Regions from separate parts of the Homo sapiens genome. Here region 2 is linked to region 1. The links are contacts of gene promoters, found by promoter capture Hi-C in human tissues and cell types (Jung and others, 2019). All regions are on one chromosome and are shown on one strand. The core of a region is centred on a gene start or on the middle of the fragment in contact, and the rest is flanking DNA. Distances in the headings are between cores, read along the strand shown.

Region 1 (3,047 bases), core at 401-2,900:
GGCTTTTAAAATGTCATAGAAATGTCTATTCAGGTATCTTTTTTTTTTTTTTTCACATTCACTGTAATCCTTGTTTGATGTCAATGTCACGTCACCACCCCAAGCGGGGGGCACAAGCACGAGGAAAGGAAACCTTCCCCGTGAGGGGAGGGGTGGGGAGGCACGCTTCCCTCCCCCAGCGCAGCTGCTGGCTCTGTCTTTGCCGGAACACTCCAGCCCCAATGCTCTTCTCTTTGCTGCTGAGTGAAGTCCTCCCCATGGCCCACGGCCTCCCTGCCTCAGCCCTTTGGATCTGCTCCTCAGACTTTACCCCTTAGTTATGCCCTGATTCTAGGACCCAGCCTGGACTCCACATCCCTTGGTCCCAGGCTGGCCCCAGGTCTTCCACGTAGTCCCTCTCCACCAAGTCCCCAAGTCACCCTTGACTCTGAGAGGTATCCCTCTCCCACACCAGTTCTTTTCCAGTCACTTCTCCTCCCATGTTTGTCTTCAGTCTTTGCCTTTATTTATCCCTGTCCCTCCCAACCCCCGGGCTCCCAAGTTCTATCTCACTCCTCCACCCTCCCTGTCCTCTCACAGCTGAGGTTCTGGGCTGTAATGATGGCAATGCTGCCCAGCACAACCCCTGCCGCCACGATGTCAGAAGGTGCCACAGTCTCATGGAGCATATAATACTGCAGTATAAGGGCCACAACCACCTCGGAATGTAGGACAGCGCACACCAGGGCAGGGTGGGCCTTGGTGACCGCATAGCCCACACATGTGAAGGAGACCAAGGCGAGGATCCCCACTGCCCCCACACAACTCCAACTCAGGAGGTCACTGGGCAACACGGGGGCCTGCAGCACAAAGAGGCCTGGCACAGAGCCCAGCAGCCCCACCAAGCCAGATAGGAAGGCCACTGTTGGGAGGCAGGGGGGAAAGTGCAGAGAACGATAGACCAGAAGCCTCAGGGACAGCGCCAGGCCTCCCAGGAAAGCCTCCACATAGCCCAGGGCGGTGTAGACACCCGTGGTCCCCTCCTGTAGTGTCCAGAGTCCAGGTCCCACAATGATGATTAGTCCTAGGATGCAGCCCAACAGTCCACACCAGTCGTAGCCACTGAGACCCTGGCTCTCAAGGCAGAGAGTGAGGACGGCGGAGCAGACGGTGGAAGAACCTTTGCGAACAGTGGCAGCGTTGCCAGCGGGCACCACCTGAACCGCACTGTAGGCACATCCAATGCTGAGGATGTTGAGCAGGGCACAGAAGAAGGCCCGGCTTCGGATGTCAGGAGTTCCCAGAAGGGGGTCGCCACGCAGTTTAAGTAGCAGGGCAATAGGGAGGTGGAAGAGGCATCGCCAGATGAGCAGCTCCAGCGAGGGCAGGTTGGAAGCCTGGTAAGCCATACGAGAAAGGGGGCCCACGAAGCCAGCAGGCAGGCCCCCACCCAGCAGGGCCACCAGCAGGCCACTGGTGGCATCAGAGGGCTGGCAGCGCTGGTACCAGCGGAGGCTGGGTGGAGCGGAGGGCGGCGATGGGTGTGTGGAGTCAGGCTGGTTGAAATAGGGGTGACTGCCAGCCATCTTTCCTTGGACTTTCTCCTCTCCTCCTGGCTCAGGGAGCCTGGGCCCCTCAGAGCTCCAGCCATTGTGACCTCATTGGAGTGGGGGTGGGATTCTTCCCTGGAACTCTCCTGAGGTGGTAGCACGCCTATTTTCCCACTGAGTCCAACTCTGCTTCTTTTCTTTCTTTTTTTGTTTTTTGTTTTTTTTTATTGATCATTCTTGGGTGTTTCTCGCAGAGGGGGATTTGGCAGGGTCATAGGACAATAGTGGAGGGAAGGTCAGCAGATAAACAAGTGAACAAAGGTCTCTGGTTTTCCTAGGCAGAGGACCCTGCGGCCTTCTGCAGTGTTTGTGTCCCTGGGTACTTGAGATTAGGGAGTGGTGATGACTCTTAACGAGCATGCTGCCTTCAAGCATCTGTTTAACAAAGCACATCTTGCACCGCCCTTAATCCATTTAACCCTGAGTGGACACAGCACATGCCCCAGAGAGCACAGGGCTGGGGGCAAGGTCACAGATCAACAGCATCCCAAGGCAGAAGAACCCTTCCCAGTACAGAACAAAATGAAGTCTCCCATGTCTACTTCTTTCTACACAGACACAGCAACAATCTGATTTCTCTATCTTTTCCCCACCTTTCCCCCTTTTCTATTCCACAAAACCACCACCGTCATCATGGCCCGTTCTCAATGAGCTGTTGGGTACACCTCCCAGACGGGGTGGTGGCCGGGCAGAGGGGCTCCTCACTTCCCAGAAGGGGCGGCCGGGCAGCGGTGCCCCCCACCTCCCGGACGGGGCAGCGGCCGGGCGGGGGCTGACCCCCCACCTCCCTCCCAGACGGGGCAGCTTGCCCGGCGGGGGCTGCCCCCCACCTCCCTCCTGGACGGGGCGGCTGCCGGGCAGAGAAGCTCCTCACTTCCCAGACGGGGCGGCTGCCGGGTGGAGGGGCTCCTCACTTCTCAGACGGGGCGGCTGCCGGGCGGAGGGGCTCCTCACTTCTCAGATGGGGCAGCTGCGGGGCGGAGGGGCTCCTCACTTCTCAGATGGGGCGGCCGGGCAGAGACGCTCCTCACCTCCCAGATGGGGTCGCGGCCAGGCAGAGGCGCTCCCCACATCTCAGACGATGGGCCCCCGGGCAGAGACGCTCCTCACTTCCTAGACGGGATGGCGGCCGGGAAGAGGCGCTCCTCACTTCCTAGATGGGATGGCGGCCGGGAAGAGGCGCTCCTCACTTCCCAGACTGGGCAGCCGGGCAGAGGGGCTCCTCACATCCCAGACAATGGGCGGCCAGGCGGAGACGCTCCTCACTTCCCAGGCGGGGTGGCGGCTGGGCAGAGGCTGCAATCTCGGCACTTTGGGAGGCCAAGGCAGGCGGCTGGGAGGTGGAGGTTGTAGCTAGCCGAGATCACGCCACTGCTCTCCAGCCTGGGCAACATTGAGCACTGAGTGAATGAGACTCCGTCTGCAATCCCGGCACCTCGGGAGGCCGAGGTTGGCAGA
Region 2 (3,047 bases), core at 290-2,789, 1.4 Mb before region 1:
ATGGTGGCGGGCACCTGTAGTCCCAGCTACTTGGGAGGCTGAGGAAGGAGAATGGTGTGAACTCAGGAGGCGGAGCTTGCAGTGAGCCCAGATCGCGCCACTGCACTCCAGCCTGGGCGAGAAAACAAGACTCTGTCTAAAAAAAAAAAAAAAAAGGCTTTGATTTCAGAATGAGAATGTACTGTCCTGGAGCAGCCAGCATTCACTGAGCCTTAGTGGGTGTGTTAGTCTATATTCTCCTGCTTATAACAGAATACCTGAAACTGGATAATTAATAAAGAAAAAGAATTTGTTTCTTACAGCTGTGGAGGCTGGGAGGTTTAAGGTCAAGGGAGTACATCTGGTGGGAACTTTCTTGCTGATGAGGACTCTGTAGAGTCTCAAGGCAGCATGGGGCATCACATGGCGAGGGGTCTGAGTGCACTAACTTGCTAGCTCAGGTCTCTTTTCCTCTTCTTATAAAGCCACCAATTCCTCCTCCATGATAACCTATTCATCCTTTAATTCATGAATGGATGAGTTCATTCTTGAGGGTACAGCCCTTATGGTCCAATCACATGTTAAAGGCCCCATCTGTCAATACTGCCACACTGGGGGTAAGTTTCTACATGAACTTTGGAGGGGACATTCGCACAATAGCAATGGGTATGTAAGATGGAAACCAAGCCCCTTGTGCCCTTTGATACATTCACGTGCCTGACTTTTCCTCTTTCCATCTTCCTGATTGTTACTTTCTCTCTTCTGCTCATGGACCATCAGCCTGGGCGTATGCTGATGCTGACCTGTAAAACTGCTGCCTATCTAGCCATCATCATCCAGCACCCGTGTCAGCACCCTTGCTCTTCTCCTAGATAGTCTTTCTGGAGGGGAAAAAGCAGCAGTCAAAACTAACTGTGATGGTGACAGTGGAACTTGATGGAGCATAATTGTTTTTTGTTTTTTTTTTGAGACGGAGTCTCGCTCTGTCGCCCAGGCTAGAGTGCAGTGGCGCTATCTTGGCTCACTGCAAGCTCCGCCTCCCGGGTTCACGCCATTCTCCTGCCTCAACCTCCCGAGTAGCTGGGACTACAGGCGCCCGCTACCACGCCCAGCTAATTTTTTTTTGTATTTTTAGTAGAGACGGGGTTTCACCGTATTAGCCAGGATGGTCTCGACCTCCTGACCTCGTGATCCACCCGCCTCGGCCTCCCAAAGTGCTGGGATTACAGGCGTGAGCCACCGCGCCCGGCGATGGAGCATAATTGTAAAATAACTTTCTTTTCCCCTCTCAGGAATATCTGACAAACCAACCTTATCAACCCTTCCTACCCACCCAAAGATGTTGTCTCAGGCAGGTTCCTCAATTTCCTGTCACTTTCAGGAAATGAAAAGTTCTTAGGTCACTGCTGGTTTCAAAATAGTATGATTTCAGTGATACAATGTCCAGTCTTCTGCAGTTCTTAAAAAATCTGAACTCTAAGTTTCTTGCCATTTCCCCTGGAATCTTGGAGTGGAACACAGCTATGCAATTGAGTTCTTGAGAGCAAGTTTTTGGAGAACAGATGGGGGACATGGATGTTCTGTTTGACTGGTGCTATCATGATTTGACTCTGGAGTCAGATGGGGTTAGAGGATATTCCAAGATGGGATTCTTCCTTTAGGCACATTCGTGAGGTCTTTGGCGTCCCTTCCCGTGGGCTCCGCTGTACCGCACAGCCCCAGATGTGGGCAATGTATTCCCCATGCAGTATCTTATGACCTTTCCACCTTGACTCCTATTACAAGCAGAGCTGCTTGGGAAGGGGTCTCCCTGCTCTAGTAGGCCACCCTCTCTTGGCAGGGACCCTTAGGAGTGGTTCTTTGTCTTGCCATTGCAGGTGGCTTAGCATATAATGGTCCCTCTTTATTGGAGGTTTTGCTTTCTATGGTTTTGGTTACCCACGGTCAACCACAGTCCAAAAACAGGTGAGTATGGTACAATGAGATATTTTGAGAGAGAGAGAGGCCACATTTACATAACATTTATTGCAGTATATTGTTATAGTTGTTCTGTTTTATTATTAATTGTTAATCTCTTACTGTGCCTAATTTATGAGTTAAACTTTATCATAGGTATGTATAGGAGTAAACAGTGTATTTAGGGTTTGGTAGTATCATTGGCTTCAAGCAGCTGCTGAGGCTTTTGGAATGTATCCCCTACAGATATAGAGGGACTGCTGTACTCAAAGAGAAGCAGATCACACTCTCCAAGTGGTTTCCTTGAAGCCTCTCTGCTAGGCTTGAGGTAGAGGCAGTGGCACCAGATAACACCTCCATATAATCCAGGAACAATGGGCTTCAAAGCACTCTTCTCCCTCAGACTTCTCAACCTCCATGTTCTGTGCCTCACCAGGGTGTTGAGCTAGGGCTGAGCTTGTTTTTGGTGGCTTCTTTCACATATCTGCATGTGTAATGTAGCATCCTAAATGTGGGATTATTATTATTATTATTTACCTATTGTTTAGCTCTCACTTTGACTGAGGAGATGATTCTTAGCCAAATCAGAAGAAAAATAACAGTTAAAATGAAGCTGTATGCTGAGAGTTAAACTCTGTGCTATTTGATCTGTGGTGAAAAGGGTAAAAAAAGAAAAATCACAGCTGTTTTGGTTTATTCCTGTGCTATTTCCTGTGTTTATTCCAAAAGCCCATTCCTCTCAACTACCATTGCCTCATTTACTTTTATTTGTCAGTGGATTTTGATGGCGATAAACTCTAATACAGATATAAGCATTGTCAAAGACAGACAAAAATATGTGGCAGCCCAGCCGGCTTTGCTTATGATAATTTTTGACCATCATTAAATAAAAGAAACCACACTGCTATTTGCCCTGGACCAGGCTGCACAGAGTTTTCCATTTGTAAAGCATCTTGGTAGCAGATCAGTGTGTGCGATTCAGTGCATCTGCTCTGCTGACCTTGGATTTGAGGCTCACATTTGAAAGCCCTGCTTGTCTGCTGTGTCTCTGGTGCCTCATTGTGCAAGGCATAAATTCCCAGTGGGAACCCACCTTGGACCCCAGTGAACCT

Evidence for each region. The method cuts DNA at HindIII sites, captures the fragments that hold promoters and counts their contacts. A contact is called where the count stands out against the background at its distance.
Region 2: a fragment that was not itself captured here is called in contact with the fragment with the promoter of SLC35G3 in region 1 in 1 of the 25 tissues and cell types used here (dorsolateral prefrontal cortex).

Annotation. Positions count from the first base shown.
Region 1 is chr17:35,192,743-35,195,789 of GRCh38, forward strand. It overlaps SLC35G3 (solute carrier family 35 member G3), which reads right to left and starts at 1,651. Exons shown (of 1, transcript NM_152462.2): 1 at 1-1,651. The coding sequence starts at 1,565. The coding sequence ends at 549. The HindIII fragment of the contact is 5,493 bases long and covers 1-3,047 here.
Region 2 is chr17:33,764,178-33,767,224 of GRCh38, forward strand. It overlaps a transcript of ASIC2 not described here. Among named protein-coding and RNA genes, the nearest start is that of ASIC2-AS1, 210 kb to the left of the region's middle. The HindIII fragment of the contact is 5,700 bases long and covers 1-3,047 here.